Regions from separate parts of the Homo sapiens genome. Here region 1 is linked to region 2. Evidence: promoter capture Hi-C in 16 types of primary human blood cells and fetal thymus (Javierre and others, 2016). All regions are on one chromosome and are shown on one strand. Each heading gives the region's core, a stretch centred on a gene start or on the middle of the fragment in contact. The rest is flanking DNA. Distances are from core to core; before and after follow the strand shown. Region 1 overlaps ENDOD1 (endonuclease domain containing 1). Region 2 holds the start of MAML2 (mastermind like transcriptional coactivator 2).

The links. Contacts are between HindIII fragments. The CHiCAGO score rates a contact against its expected background, and 5 or more counts as called.
Region 1: a contact is called between a fragment that was not itself captured here and the fragment with the promoter of MAML2 in region 2, in 1 of 17 cell types (total B cells). The highest score is 7.0, in total B cells.

What each region holds. Positions count from the first base shown.
Region 1 is chr11:95,090,219-95,096,236 of GRCh38, reverse strand. ENDOD1 (endonuclease domain containing 1) reads right to left here. Exons shown (of 2, transcript NM_015036.3): 1 at 6,010-6,018. Among named protein-coding and RNA genes, the nearest start is that of ENDOD1, 3.4 kb to the right of the region's middle. RefSeq lists a silencer at 3,018-3,312 and an enhancer at 3,018-3,312. The HindIII fragment of the contact is 2,475 bases long and covers 13-2,487 here.
Region 2 is chr11:96,339,293-96,346,472 of GRCh38, reverse strand. It overlaps MAML2 (mastermind like transcriptional coactivator 2), which reads left to right and starts at 3,278. Exons shown (of 5, transcript NM_032427.4): 1 at 3,278-5,090. The coding sequence starts at 4,578. It overlaps MIR1260B (microRNA 1260b), which reads right to left and starts at 5,035; the gene lies at 4,947-5,035. RefSeq lists silencers at 3,095-3,284, 4,402-4,661, 6,914-7,180. The HindIII fragment of the contact is 8,013 bases long and covers 1-7,180 here.

The sequences.
Region 1 (6,018 bases), core at 1-2,500, 1.2 Mb after region 2:
AAAAAAAAAGCTTTCTTGACTAACAGTAATTCTAGAAGATAGACCAGATAACTGAAAACAAATGCTACTGGCAAATAAGAGGATTTACTTTCTAAAATTTTCACTTTCAGAGATGAGAGTTTAAAAGGAAGAGAAATTTTATGCCCAAAGAATAAAATCTCAATTCCCTAAGGAAAGCTCCATTCAATCACCATGAATCACCAGTAACGGAGCTAAAAGAAATCTGAAGCTGGCATTTACATACAGAATGGTATGTTAGTAGTGAAACCATAAACCATCCAAAGAACTGGATTAAAAATAAAATAACAAGTCTAGTCAGCCAGTTTGGATTCTGGAGAGAAAAAACTAACATTTTAGTTAGAAAATAGTGTGATAGAGAATAAAGAGAGTTAAGAGCTTTGGATTTGGGCAGTCATAAACTCCTGTCCAGGTTTTGCCATCTAGAAGCTGTTTGACCTTGGATAAGTTACTTAACTACTCCGAACCTCAGTTTCCTAAACTATAAAACACAAGTCATAATACCTAGAGTTGTTATAGAGATGAGATGAGTTAGAATGTGAAGACCTTTGACATGGTAAGGGATCAATAAATGATAGTTCCTTGCCTAGATTGTCCAGATATAAGTCTAAACTGAAAGAATAGTATAGGGAATTGTCACCACTGGACTGCTTCAGGACAGATGTCCCTGAAATATTCTGCCAACGCAGGTAAATACCTTAACTTGATCCTGAGAATGGCCTGCAAAACAAAAGGAAACACTAAATCCAAAGATGAAGAAAAAGCCAGAAGGGAAAAATTCAACAAAGGTTGGAACCATCCCCTGGGTCAGGCACTTCCCAGTCTTATCCAGTCTCAGCACAATAGACTGGAATGCCATTGCTCACTGTTTTCTGACAACACACTTCTTGGTTTTCCAGGACAGAGAGGGTGGAGATGTCTTTGGTACCTGTTTGGTTTGTTTTTGCTTTTAATCACTCAAATCCACCCTCCATCCATTCATTCAATCTTCCACACATTTCATCTCTCATCATGCATTTATGAAGCAGCTACTGTATGAATGTGGGACATACACCAAGCATTTGAGAAGATACATGGATAGATATTTTACTTTTTAGGAGAGATTTGCAGAATTGTAGATGTCACCTATCTAATCCAACATTCCATTTGTGTGTGTGTGTGTGTGTGTGTGTGTGCGTGCACACGCCTAGCACCTACTGAAGTAACACCTTATATACATATTAATATTTACTAAGAGTTTACCATATTCCAGGTACCATGCCACATGCTCTCATGTGTTATCTTGTTTATTTGTCACAACCTCTCTATAAACACTTTTACAACCTTTAATGAACAGATCCAAAAAATGGGGCTGGAAGTCACATAGCTTGTAAATGGAAGAGCAGGGATCTGAATTAAGTCTCTTAATTAAGGAGTAAGAATCAGGATTGTCCTGTTCACTGCATTCCTTACACAGAGATTTAAGTGTATGATGCTCTATATATCTGTTCTCTGACACAATGAAAAGAAGGCTGAGGTTGGAACAAATTGAACAGTATTTCTGTTTCAGGTTGTATAAGCCATGGATGGAAATTAAAAATCAAGGACTTAATCAAGGTTCTAACTTGAAACAACCATTTGCATTTACTAAGATCTGAAGTAAGACCTCACTGTGCCCTCCAGGAAAATGTTTTTGCAGTTAACCAGAATATCCCCTTCATTCCAGAGTAAAGTGACACTTGAGCAACCTTTATGCAGCCAAGTAAGTGCTCCCACTTGTCCTATGACTGTCAGAAAATAGAAGTGGAGTAGAAATTAGAATTCTCACATAAAAGATGAAAATTAGAGTCCTAAGACCATTAGCGCAGTGGATCCATTGTGAGATCAAAGAATCTCCACAGTGTATCAGAAGAGTAATCAGTAATGAGTTCAAAAATAAGCTGTGTGACCCTAAAACACCTCAGTTAACCTCCCTTAGCCAGTTTCCTCCTTTCTACAATGAAGATAATATCTACCTCACAGTATTTTTTAAGATTGAACAAATATACACTATTGTTACTGAATATATAAATTATATATTATATAATTAATATGTATAATATATTAATTATATAATTTATATATTCAGTTCCTTCCATGTTTATAAAATGATAGAGCTTTATATGTTGGCTTCTGGCATAAATCAGCAATGCACTTTAGAAAGGTATCATTGGCATCTTATCTAAAAATTCTTCCATTAAGTGGAAAGGAGTCAACAAACTAAAAGGTTTGAGGCTTCCTGCACTAAACCAGAATCCAGTTCTCAGGTTTCTGGAGTCTTGACTAGAACTCCTCCAAACCATCTCCTGTAGGCAGAGCAGAGATCAAAATCATTTGGGATAGTTTCAAAGGCCAAAGCTAAGACTGATGGAGTGGCTGCAGAGCAGGGTTCCAGCTCTGCATAGGGAGCATGTTTGTAACAGTTGCTGCTGGCCAGCCCTGGTGCAAGCTTCTGAAACAGGAAGCGCCCCACTGAGAAAACTGAAGCAGAACATCTCACCTGCTCCTGCCTGATTGATCCTCCCAACATCAAATTATTTTATTCAACACTTATCGCGTGCTTTCTATAAGCTGGGCACTAGGAAAAGAATGAGTAAGATGCAATCATCATTCCTCAAGGGCTCAAGTTGGGGAGACAGATACATAAGCAGATAATTACAAAACAACATGGTAAGTATGAAAATAGAAAAACTATAAGAGCACTGAAGGGGTGAACCTAACTTGGGAGGTGGATACAGTTCAGGTGGGGAATTCTTTCTGGAGGAGGTGACACCTCAGCAGAGTCTTAAAGGATGGAGTAAGGGCAGGAAGTGAAGGATAAGATGGGGTCTGTGTAGAAAGGGAATTTGGGCAAAGGGAATCAGCATGAGCTAAGAAACAGACATCACAAACAGTCTGGTTTATGAGAGGAACTCCAGGCAGCTGGATAATGCTAGAACATAAAATATGAGGGTGGAGCATGGTGAGAAACTAGATTGGAGCTGGAGACAGGAGCTAGGCTATGGAGAGCCTGTAAACTGCATTCTGCAGTGTGAACTTTGTCCTGTAGGGGCTGGGCAGGCAACACTTTACAGATTTTCAGCACAAGAGTGACTAAGTTTCTGTGATCTTTGACTTAGGAGATTCTTTTCAAAGGGAAACTGCAGTGTGGACTCAAAAGCTGCCGAACTGGGCTTTGGGAATTCAGTGTCACTGCTGCCCTGCCTGACTCATCACTGGAGGCAAGCACTGAGTTCCTTTGGTCTCCTGCCTCTTCCTCCCCTGTGTGCGGGTCCTCTTGGTAACACTGACCTCATAAAAAGGTGATGTGGGTACAAGGAGACTCAGCATTATAAAATGCTTGGAAGCCGCCAAGGGTACACATTGAGCCCTGAGCATCTTTCTGCAGTGGGGATCTTGGCTGGGAGGCAGGGCCTCAGGGAGCAGGCAACAGTGGGGGCAGGTTTGCTGCAGTGCACTCCAGGCCCAGCTGCACCTCACACCTCCTCCTCCCTCCCTCTCTCCCAATACTCTCTGGATCCTGGCTGACTTGACTTGAGGTCGAGCGGGTGGATGTGGGAGGCCAGCCACCTTGCAGGGAAAAGCATCCTGCAGTGCTCAGCCACAGTGACCATTCTGACCTCTCAGCACAGCAGGAACTCAGGCCCCTTGTACTCTTCAGAACCGCTGTACATCTTACCTCTCAAGCTGCCATTTGTAACTATTTCCACCCTCCCTTCCCATCTTCTTTAATCTCCACAGTCCCCTTCCTCATTATCTCACCCAGGGTCTCCATGTTACCTGGTTCCCTGTACTTCTTTCTGTCAAACTATGCTCCTTTACGACTCACTCCTTCCCTAGCTGCATAAATGGCTCTGCCTCCCTAAGCCTTCCTTGGTGGCTCCTCCCCACCTGATCCCTCCCTTCCATGATTCCTTTTTATTCTGAGCAATTGAGTGCATTCATCTATTTGTATTAGTTTACCTGTTCCAACTTCTTCACGCACAAATCCCTGAATCTGCCATGCCTTTCTCACTCATGATGTTTGTTCCCTCTGCTTGAAATGTCCTCCTCCTTGCCTCCCTTCTAAACTCTGCCTTATCTTTCCACACACAGCAGAAATGTCATCCTGACCCTAAGGCTTGCTTCCATCACCTCAAAGACAGATTAAATCTAATAGGACTTTGTTCACCTTTATTAAATTATGGTTTTTTGCTTAGGTCATAGCAACAGCTAGTACTTAGTACTCATGTGTCACACACCTGAGAACTTTATATATGGTAACTCATTAAATCTTCACACCACCCTATGCTATTATCTCCAATTTAACCTGCCCAAGTTCATAGCTAGTCAGTGGAGCAACTAGGATATGAACCCACATAGCATGGCTCTAATCAGATACTACACCACCTCTCCACCCAGCAAACTCCACCTGCAGATCAGGTAGCCTTTGTTCCAGAACTGCACTCAGATCTCTTGGTCCCAAATATCTGGCACACAGCAGGAGTCACTAAATGTGTTCTGAATTTAACTGAAATTTGTTTAGCATCCATTCCCATGATTTCCTCAGACGTATGTTCTGTCTCCCCAAGCTGTCCATGAGATCAAGGGGAAAGAACTAGCTCATTTGTTTTCTTCGCAGGCACACAATCACAATGCAAGATGAGAGGTGGGGAACACCCTGTGAGCTCTAGGGGTGCAGCTGGTGGAAAACTAATTTTGGATTTAAATGTGTCTTGTGTGTGCAACTGACAACGTCTTTTTCACATGCCTGATCTCGACAAGTGTTATCAACAGTTGAGGTAGGTGGAAGGATGTGAGGAAGATAAGAAAACTAGGTGCAGATTGTTTGAGACCTGGCCAAGACCTCAGAGCTAGAAATATCTGAATGAGATTACAACCCACAGGCTCTGAATAAAGCACCTGAAAGCCAGCCTCCTGTCCACTGGTGTGGTCCTGGGCAGCTGTGGCCGTCAGGAAAGGGAGAGCGTTGGGTCAGTTCTTCCCCCAGCAGCCTGGGCAGGGGTGGGAGGCTGGTGAGAGGGCAAAGGGGAGTCTGGCAGGGTGTTCTAGAGAGGAGGCCAACTGAGGAGAGGTATTAAGAGCAGGCCAGCAGGTTCGGAAGACTCTGAGGGCTTCTCAAGTGTTTGGTCACCTTTACCAGACGGGACAGAACACCATGAGAGGTGACACGATTTCCTAGTGGTATGATAATATAGATATGAGGAGTCAGGAAAAACTGGCTTATCTTTCCATCAGTTGGAGGTAGTCAATGTTTCCCTATCATTTTTAACTACCCCATTGCGTTTCTAAAAATCTGTATCTTTATTTCATTGTTCTAATTCAACACAACCGCAGATCGAATTTACTCAACGCCGTGGTAGAGGAAGGATTTTCAGGCTAGGATGAGCTCTGCAGAAGAGAAGCTTTACTTAGTAGAAAAGGCAGTGAATTTCTAGACAGAGACCTGCCCCATCTTACTAACTGGGTAGTCTTCCATATGTCTCTTCACCCCCTGGGTTTATCTCCTCTTCTGTAAAATGGGGATGAAAATGCCCACCTACCCACCTCCAAATGAGTGCTATGGCAATAAGTTGCACGAAGGCCTGTGAGCGCCCAGCCTAGGCTTTCTGCGGATCTGAACGGTCTCCAGGGTCTCTGTATCAAGCTCTTCACCATTCAGGAATGAAACACTGCGGATGTCTGCTCAGAAATGCAGGGAGAACCTCCTCCCACAGGGGACCTCCCGCCCTGCAGCTCATGAAGTGAAGGCTCGCAGATCGCCAGGCTCTTATTGTAGCTCGACAGGGGCGAGGCAGGCTAACTCCGGGGACGCAACAGGGTGGACCTGGAACCCGGGTTTCTTGGCCCAAGGCACCGAAGGCGTAGGGATTGCTGTTCCCGGCCCGCCCCTCGCGGTAGCTGCAACTGGGGGCATGTCCAGCGGCACGGTCTCCGGCGCCCGCAGCCCGGCTCGGGAACCACTTCGCTTACCTGCGGCTC
Region 2 (7,180 bases), core at 2,029-4,528:
AAGCTACCAACGACTTTCTTCACAGAATTGGAAAAAACTACTTTAAAGTTCATGTGGAACCAAAAAAGAGCCCGCATTGCCAAGTCAATCCTAAGCCAAAAGAACAAAGCTGGAGGCATCATGCTACCTGACTTCAAACTATACTACAAGGCTACAGTAACCAAAACAGCATGGTACTGGTACCAAAGCAGAGATATAGACCAATGGAACTGAACAGAGCCCTCAGAAATAATGCCGCATATCTACAACTATCTGATCTTTGACAAACCTGAGAAAAACAAGCAATGGGGAAAGGATTCCCTATTTAATAAATGGTGCCAGGAAAACTGGCTAGCCATATGTAGAAAGCTGAAACTGGATCCCTTCCTTACACCTTATACAAAAATTAATTCAAGATGGATTAAAGACTTATGTGTTAGACCTAAAACCATAAAAACCCTAGAAGAAAACCTAGGCAATAACATTCAAGACATAGGTGTGGGCAAGGACTTCATGTCTAAAACACCAAAAGCAATGGCAACAAAAGCCAAAATTGACAAATGGGATCTAATTAAACTAAAGAGCTTCTGCACAGCAAAAGAAACTACCATCACAGTGAACAGGCAACCTACAGAATGGGAGAAAATTTTTGCAACCTACCCATCTGACAAAGGGCTAATATCCAGAATCTAAATGAACTCAAACAAATTTACAAGAAAAAAACAAATAACCCCATAAAAAGTGGGCAAAGGATATGAACAGACACTTCTCGAAAGAAGACATTTATGCAGCCAAAAAGCACATGAAAAAATGCTCATCGTCATTGGCCATCAGAGAAACGCAAATCAAAACCACTATGAGATACCATCTCACACCAGTTAGAATGGCAATCATTAAAAAGTCAGGAAACAACAGGTGCTGGAGAGGATGTGGAGAAATAGGAACACTTTTACACTGTTGGTGGGACTGTAAACTAGTTTAACCATTGTGGAAGTCAGTGTGGCGATTCCTCAGGGATCTAGAACTAGAAATACCATTTGACCCAGCCATCCCATTACTGGGTATATACCCAAAGGACTATAAATTATGCTGCTATAGAGACACATGCACTGGTACGTTTATTGCGGCACTATTCACAATAGTAAAGACTTGGAACCAACCCAAATGTCCAACAATGATAGACTGGATTAAGAAAATGTGGCACATATACACCATGGAATACTATGCAGCCATAAAAATTGATGAGTTCATGTCCTTTGTAGGGACATGGATGAAGCTGGAAACCATCATTCTCAGCAAACTATCACAAGGACGAAGAAACAAACACCGCATGTTCTCACTCATAGGTGGGAATTGAACAATGAGATCACATGGACACAGGAAGGGGAACATCACACTCTGGGGACTGTTGTGGGGTGGGGTGAGGGGGGAGAGATAGCATTAGGAGATATGCCTAATGCTAAATAACGAGTTCATGGGTGCAGCACACCAGCATGGCACATGTATACATATGTAACAAACCTGCACGTTGTGAACATGTACCCTAAAACTTAAAGTATAATAATAATAAAATTTAAAAAAAGAAATAAAAGAAATTATAAAACAAACAAAAAATCTGAGTGTATTTGTCCCCATTTCCAAGCTAACAGGATTGGTGAAAATAAAATGGACTAAAGTAGGCTATCCTATAGGGAACTAAATTGCAAATAAATCCAGTATTGAGATGTTTGCCTTGATTTTGCCTATTTCTATCCATAGCTCAGTTTGAAACGACCATATTCGTGAAATGCCAGAGTTTGTTTAGATTACTGAAGGTATATTATTTGAGACCTCAAATCCAAATGACTTCCAAATTAGGATACCCAGAATATTTTTGGTCCTGACTGTTGCAGTATTATGCTCACCTTAATTTAATCTTCATAATTGAAAATAAGCAGAATCCACAATAAGTTTTTTTTTTTTTTTTGGAGACAGAGACTCACCCTGTTGCCCAGGTTGGAGCGCAGTGGCGTGATCTTAGCTCACTGCGACCTCCGCCTCCTGGGTTCCAGCAATTATCCTGTCTCAGCCTCCCGAGTAGCTGGGATTACAGGCGTATGACACCATGCTCAGCTAATTTTTGTAGTTTTAGCAGAGACGGGGTTTCACCATATTGGCCAGGCTGGTCTTGAACTCTTGAACTCAGGTAATACACCTGCCTTGGCCTCCCAAAGTGCTGGGATTACAGGCGTGAGCCACTGTGCCTGGCCAGGATTGGATATTTTAAAGGTTGGATCACTTGAAAATGGGGGAACAATGATCTGTGTGAGATCTATTTGGTTTCTATTATTAAACTTCTTGAAACTCAGAGCCAGGTGCAGTAGTGGTGAGTACCTGTAGTTCCAGCTACTCAGGAGGCTCAAGTGGGAGGATCACTTGAGCCCAGGAGTTCAACTCCAGCCTGGGCAACATAACAAGACTCCATTAAAAGAAAAAAAAAAAAAAAACTTTTTGAAACTCAGCTGCTACACATTGACTTTCCTCATTGTATATGTGCACCAGGTAGCTAAGGATACTTCAGGTCTTATATTTGGTTTTTCATAGGCAATCATGCATTCCCAAAAAAAAAGCGTTTTTTTCTAGAACTGGTATCGATAATTGTATCATTCTCATAAAATATTTTATTTATCCCAACTGATTTGCCTGTGATCACCCAGACTCACTTATCCAGAGACACACAAATGGGCAGGCAGGTAGACAAACGCTACACCTGCCTGCCCTTTAGGAGCTAACAATGTGATTACCTCTCCTCTCCACGCGCAACCCCTTCCGCCCTCAACACACACATTCATATCTTCCTTATTCTATTAATGAACATTTCCTCGGTGCTCACACAGCTCGTGCTAGGTTGCTCAGTGGTGTCATTTACAATATACTGAAAAATGAAAATGATATCCTCAGCGGGGCGTAATGTAGGGCTGAAAGGGAAAACACATTCCTGGCCCGGAATTTCTTAAACATTTAGAGCTGGTGAAATGGTTGTGTAGAGGTTGGGGAATTTCCCCAGCCTTCCCCGCTTAACCGAGTCTGATGCTGAGCTGAGCCAGGGCAGCTGAGATGCGCAGGGCTTGGGATTTACCTCTTCAGCCACTGGGAGGCCCTCTGCGTTCCCCTTTCCCCGGTGCCTGGCTGCGATTACTCACTCGCGCAGTGGCACCAGCCTTCCACCAGGGAGCCTCGAACGAGCTCTCCCGCCCTCTCCCCGCCCCCCCACCCCCATCTGCAGCTTGCTGGCTCTCTCTTTCTCCTTCTCTGTCTCACTCTCTCTCTTTCTCTCCCTCTCCTATCGGAGCACAATGAAAGCCTGTGTATCGCCGTGACTCCGGGCGCGAGCCAGTGTCAGCAAAGCGGCTAACAACAGACGAGAAAGAGAAAGGAAAATACAAGCTACTTTTTTTTTCCATCTATAAAGCGGAGCAAATACAGGAGATAGAACCAGATTGCTTATTGCGAGTCCAGACCCTCAGATCCACTGGCCGGGGATGGAATGTACAAAAGTGGACAGAAAAGTGGCTGGACATGACTCGGTGCAATTTGCTGGAAGTTTGTAAGTTTGACCATCGTTTGTAAATTACTCTCGGAAGAGTTTGTCTCTCTTGATACTGTATTAGAATAGAGCCGGGGGTGAGGAATAGAAACGTAAGCGGGAAAGAAAAAAATGTGTTGAAGGATCTCTCTCAGTGGCTAGCGACTTAAGATTGCTTTTCATTTAAGGCTAGGAAACCTTAGAGGGAGTGAGGATTTTACCGGTGATTGGATTAGCTGAAGAAAAAAGCATGGTCCAAAAGTCCAATTACTGACATTGTTAACAGTTGAAAAGCTGTCTCCCTCTTTTGGGAGAAGACAACATCCTACAGTACCCCAAAGAGGAGAAAACACCGGAGCGAAAGGAAAGGGAGGAAAAATTAAAAGCCAAAAGACAGTCTCCCTTGATTTTTGCACATTTTGAACAGTGACTTAAACATCTTCTGAAACAGCACTGTTTTGTTTTGTTTTGGTTTTTTATTTAACCTGAGGAAAAGTCAAGGCTGCTGGTTACATAGACATGGTAGAAATGTGTTTCTCTGCAGAAACATCCCCATAAAGAATTGTCGGAAACAACTAGGTGAGGGGGAGTCCTCTCTATTAATACCTCTCTCAATACCTTTTGCTGTGTGTTTCTGTCTCTTGCTGGACAATCCCTGAATTCTTGATCTAACCCCCAGATCGTGTGTTTACAAAGTACCTAGTGGCTCTTGTCAGCTTGGTGGAGGAAAAAAAATCCACCAACTCTGTCCAACTTCTCCAGAGCTGTCAAATGCAATTAGAGTAAGTTAATCAGGGTTTGTTTCCAACTTATCCTCCCCCCAGTTGGTTTCTATTCTTTCTCCCCACCCTCTTTTTACTAACTCCCCTCCCCCACAACTTCTCCACGGCTCCCCCACAACCTCTGAAGACCTCTATTCATGTGGCCCTGAACACTGAGCTCACATTGTCAAAAACAGACTTGCCTGCAATAGCCAGCAGTAGCCTCTTTCCACCTCACCATCCCAGAGGCAGCAATCATTGTGTCCGGTAAGATGGGGGACACAGCGCCCCCGCAGGCCCCCGCAGGAGGGCTAGGGGGGGCCTCTGGGGCGGGGCTCCTTGGAGGGGGCTCAGTCACCCCGAGAGTGCACAGTGCTATCGTGGAGCGCCTCCGGGCTCGGATCGCTGTCTGCCGCCAACACCACCTGAGCTGTGAAGGACGATATGAACGAGGTAGGGCCGAGAGCTCAGACCGGGAAAGAGAAAGCACCTTGCAGCTCCTGAGCCTTGTACAGCATGGCCAGGGGGCAAGGAAAGCTGGCAAACACACCAAGGCCACCGCCACTGCTGCCACCACTACAGCCCCTCCACCGCCCCCTGCTGCCCCTCCTGCGGCCTCCCAAGCAGCAGCAACAGCAGCCCCACCGCCCCCACCAGACTATCACCATCACCACCAGCAGCACCTGCTGAACAGTAGCAATAATGGTGGCAGTGGTGGGATAAACGGAGAGCAGCAGCCGCCCGCTTCAACCCCAGGGGACCAGAGGAACTCAGCCCTGATTGCGGTAAGCACCTGGCTTTCTCATGGTTCTGGCTGTGGTCCTGTGACCTTTTGTGAGGGTAGAGTTTGCTTTGGCCTAAGGTAGAGTGGATGGCAATGAAAAAGGCCAAGATGTCACCTGACTACCTTAAAGGCCATTGGGTGTGTTCGGGTGGTTTCATGCGCCTACTCATCATGTTCTGTTGGTGCTCACTCCTGGGTTTTCCTTCGCTTATAGGATATTCCTTAACTGATAAGAAGCCTGAGTTTTCCAGAGGCTCTCTGGGGTCCACATCTTATAAAAGAAGAGGCTACCAGCTGGCAAGATCTGAGCCACTGAGGAAGGTTCTATCTCATGGATCCTCCAGCTTTGGCCAGCCAGCTCTGATTAGGCCCCCAAGCCATTTTTCAGCCCCAAAGCATTTATCAGCCCAGCTGGCCTTTATTAAAGCCTTTTTCTCCTTGCCCCATTTCCCCTCTCCCTTTTGAAGTGACCCCCTTCTTCTTCGCTTAAGAGAACATAAATGGTAAGCTGTAACAAATAGCAAATTCCCCGAATGTCCCCTCAGTCAAAAACAAAATTTGGGGAAAATATCCCAAAGAGAGACTAGGGAGGCACTGTTTCTTAAGAGGCCTACTCTCTGATTCCCTCTAGACTCTCTCACTCCTGAGCCACATCTCGATTATTTTCCCAAGCACTCCAGTCCAATCCAGTAATGCTCCCTTAGAGCATTCGTTAAGCAGACAGGCACGAAGCAGCTATTTACACAGATCATCATCCTAGGAAATACCTTGTCTTCAGCCACTCCTGGTGATAGGATATCAAACCCAAAAGTTCTGATTAAGTTTCTGGCTGGAAGTTCTTCCCCAGAGGCACAGACACACACCATCCCAGAGGAGTATCCCTTGGATCATTGATTCTCAGTGCCAGTCCTGGTCAGGTGACTGCCTGCTGTTTGCAGGCTTCCCCCCAAAGCTGCTGGACCAGTGGCCTCTGGTGGAAGGTAGAACCCTGCCCTGTGGCCCTGCAGGCTTCCTCCCTTTTGGAGCTCCATGGGACTTCTGGATTCTATGTCTGCTCCAGTTTACCCAGGTCAGCCCTAGCAAAAGCGACAGGAAATGGCCATGCAAGCCCCAAAGTACTCAAAAAGCCCAAAGGAGATGGTGCTATTGTGTCTAACTGCTCCTCCAAAGGAGCTTGATATTGAGCTCTCGGGAGAGGACATCCTCTGGCCAGACGCTCAGGATGGCTCTTTCTGGCTTCCCTTAATCCCTGGCCTGGGTCCATGGTGACGAAGACCCTGGGAATCTCTGGGGAGTAGGATGGTGCTTTTCTCCCCAGCCATAAGCACATTTACTTGGGCTACCTAGGAATGGGACTCCTTGAGGCCAGCTCCAGATGAAAAATAACTACCAACAGTTAAACTGCACAGGGTTTACAGTTTTACCCTTGAATAGCAGCACTAGCTTGTGGGGTTGTATTAGAGCTTCGAAGCCTAATATCCTTTTTCTACCACCTGCTCTATTCCCGCTTCTCCCTGGAATTCCCTAGGAAAGCAGTGGGAGGTTGTTTTGTGAAAAAAGAGATGTTAGGGTAAAGGAGGGGGGTAAAGAATCGCTCAAATGGAGAGAAGAATGAGGTTTGTATGTATGTGTGTGTCACCAGCATCTGTAGCCAAAAGTATCTAAATGCCTTGATTGTCCCCAGTAAATTTATAATCTGTCTGCAAGTCTCCCAATAATGCGGCTTTGTGTGCTTCACAGTCTCCTGGTAAGTGTTTCTGGGGATGGAACCGCAAGTGAGGCACCCGGCCCAACCCTGAGTGGAGAAGACTGATCTCTGCCCGGGGTGTCAAGGCCGGAGCGGGGCCGTGAAGAGCCACAGTGGGCTTCCCTTGTGGCCTTCACAGCCCAGCCTCTGAAGGAAAGGTGGCATGTTTGCCTCTGGCCTTGTTCTTTGAGCTTCTGCTTTTGTCCAACTTGGCAGTAAGCTGAGACAGCCTTTTTTTTCTAGGGTGTTTCATGATGGGAAATGAAACCAACTTTAGTGGTCGTGGTAACTTTACAGTAGCAATACCCATGCTGGGAGGGAAGTGAGGGAGCGGTGTCTGGCCC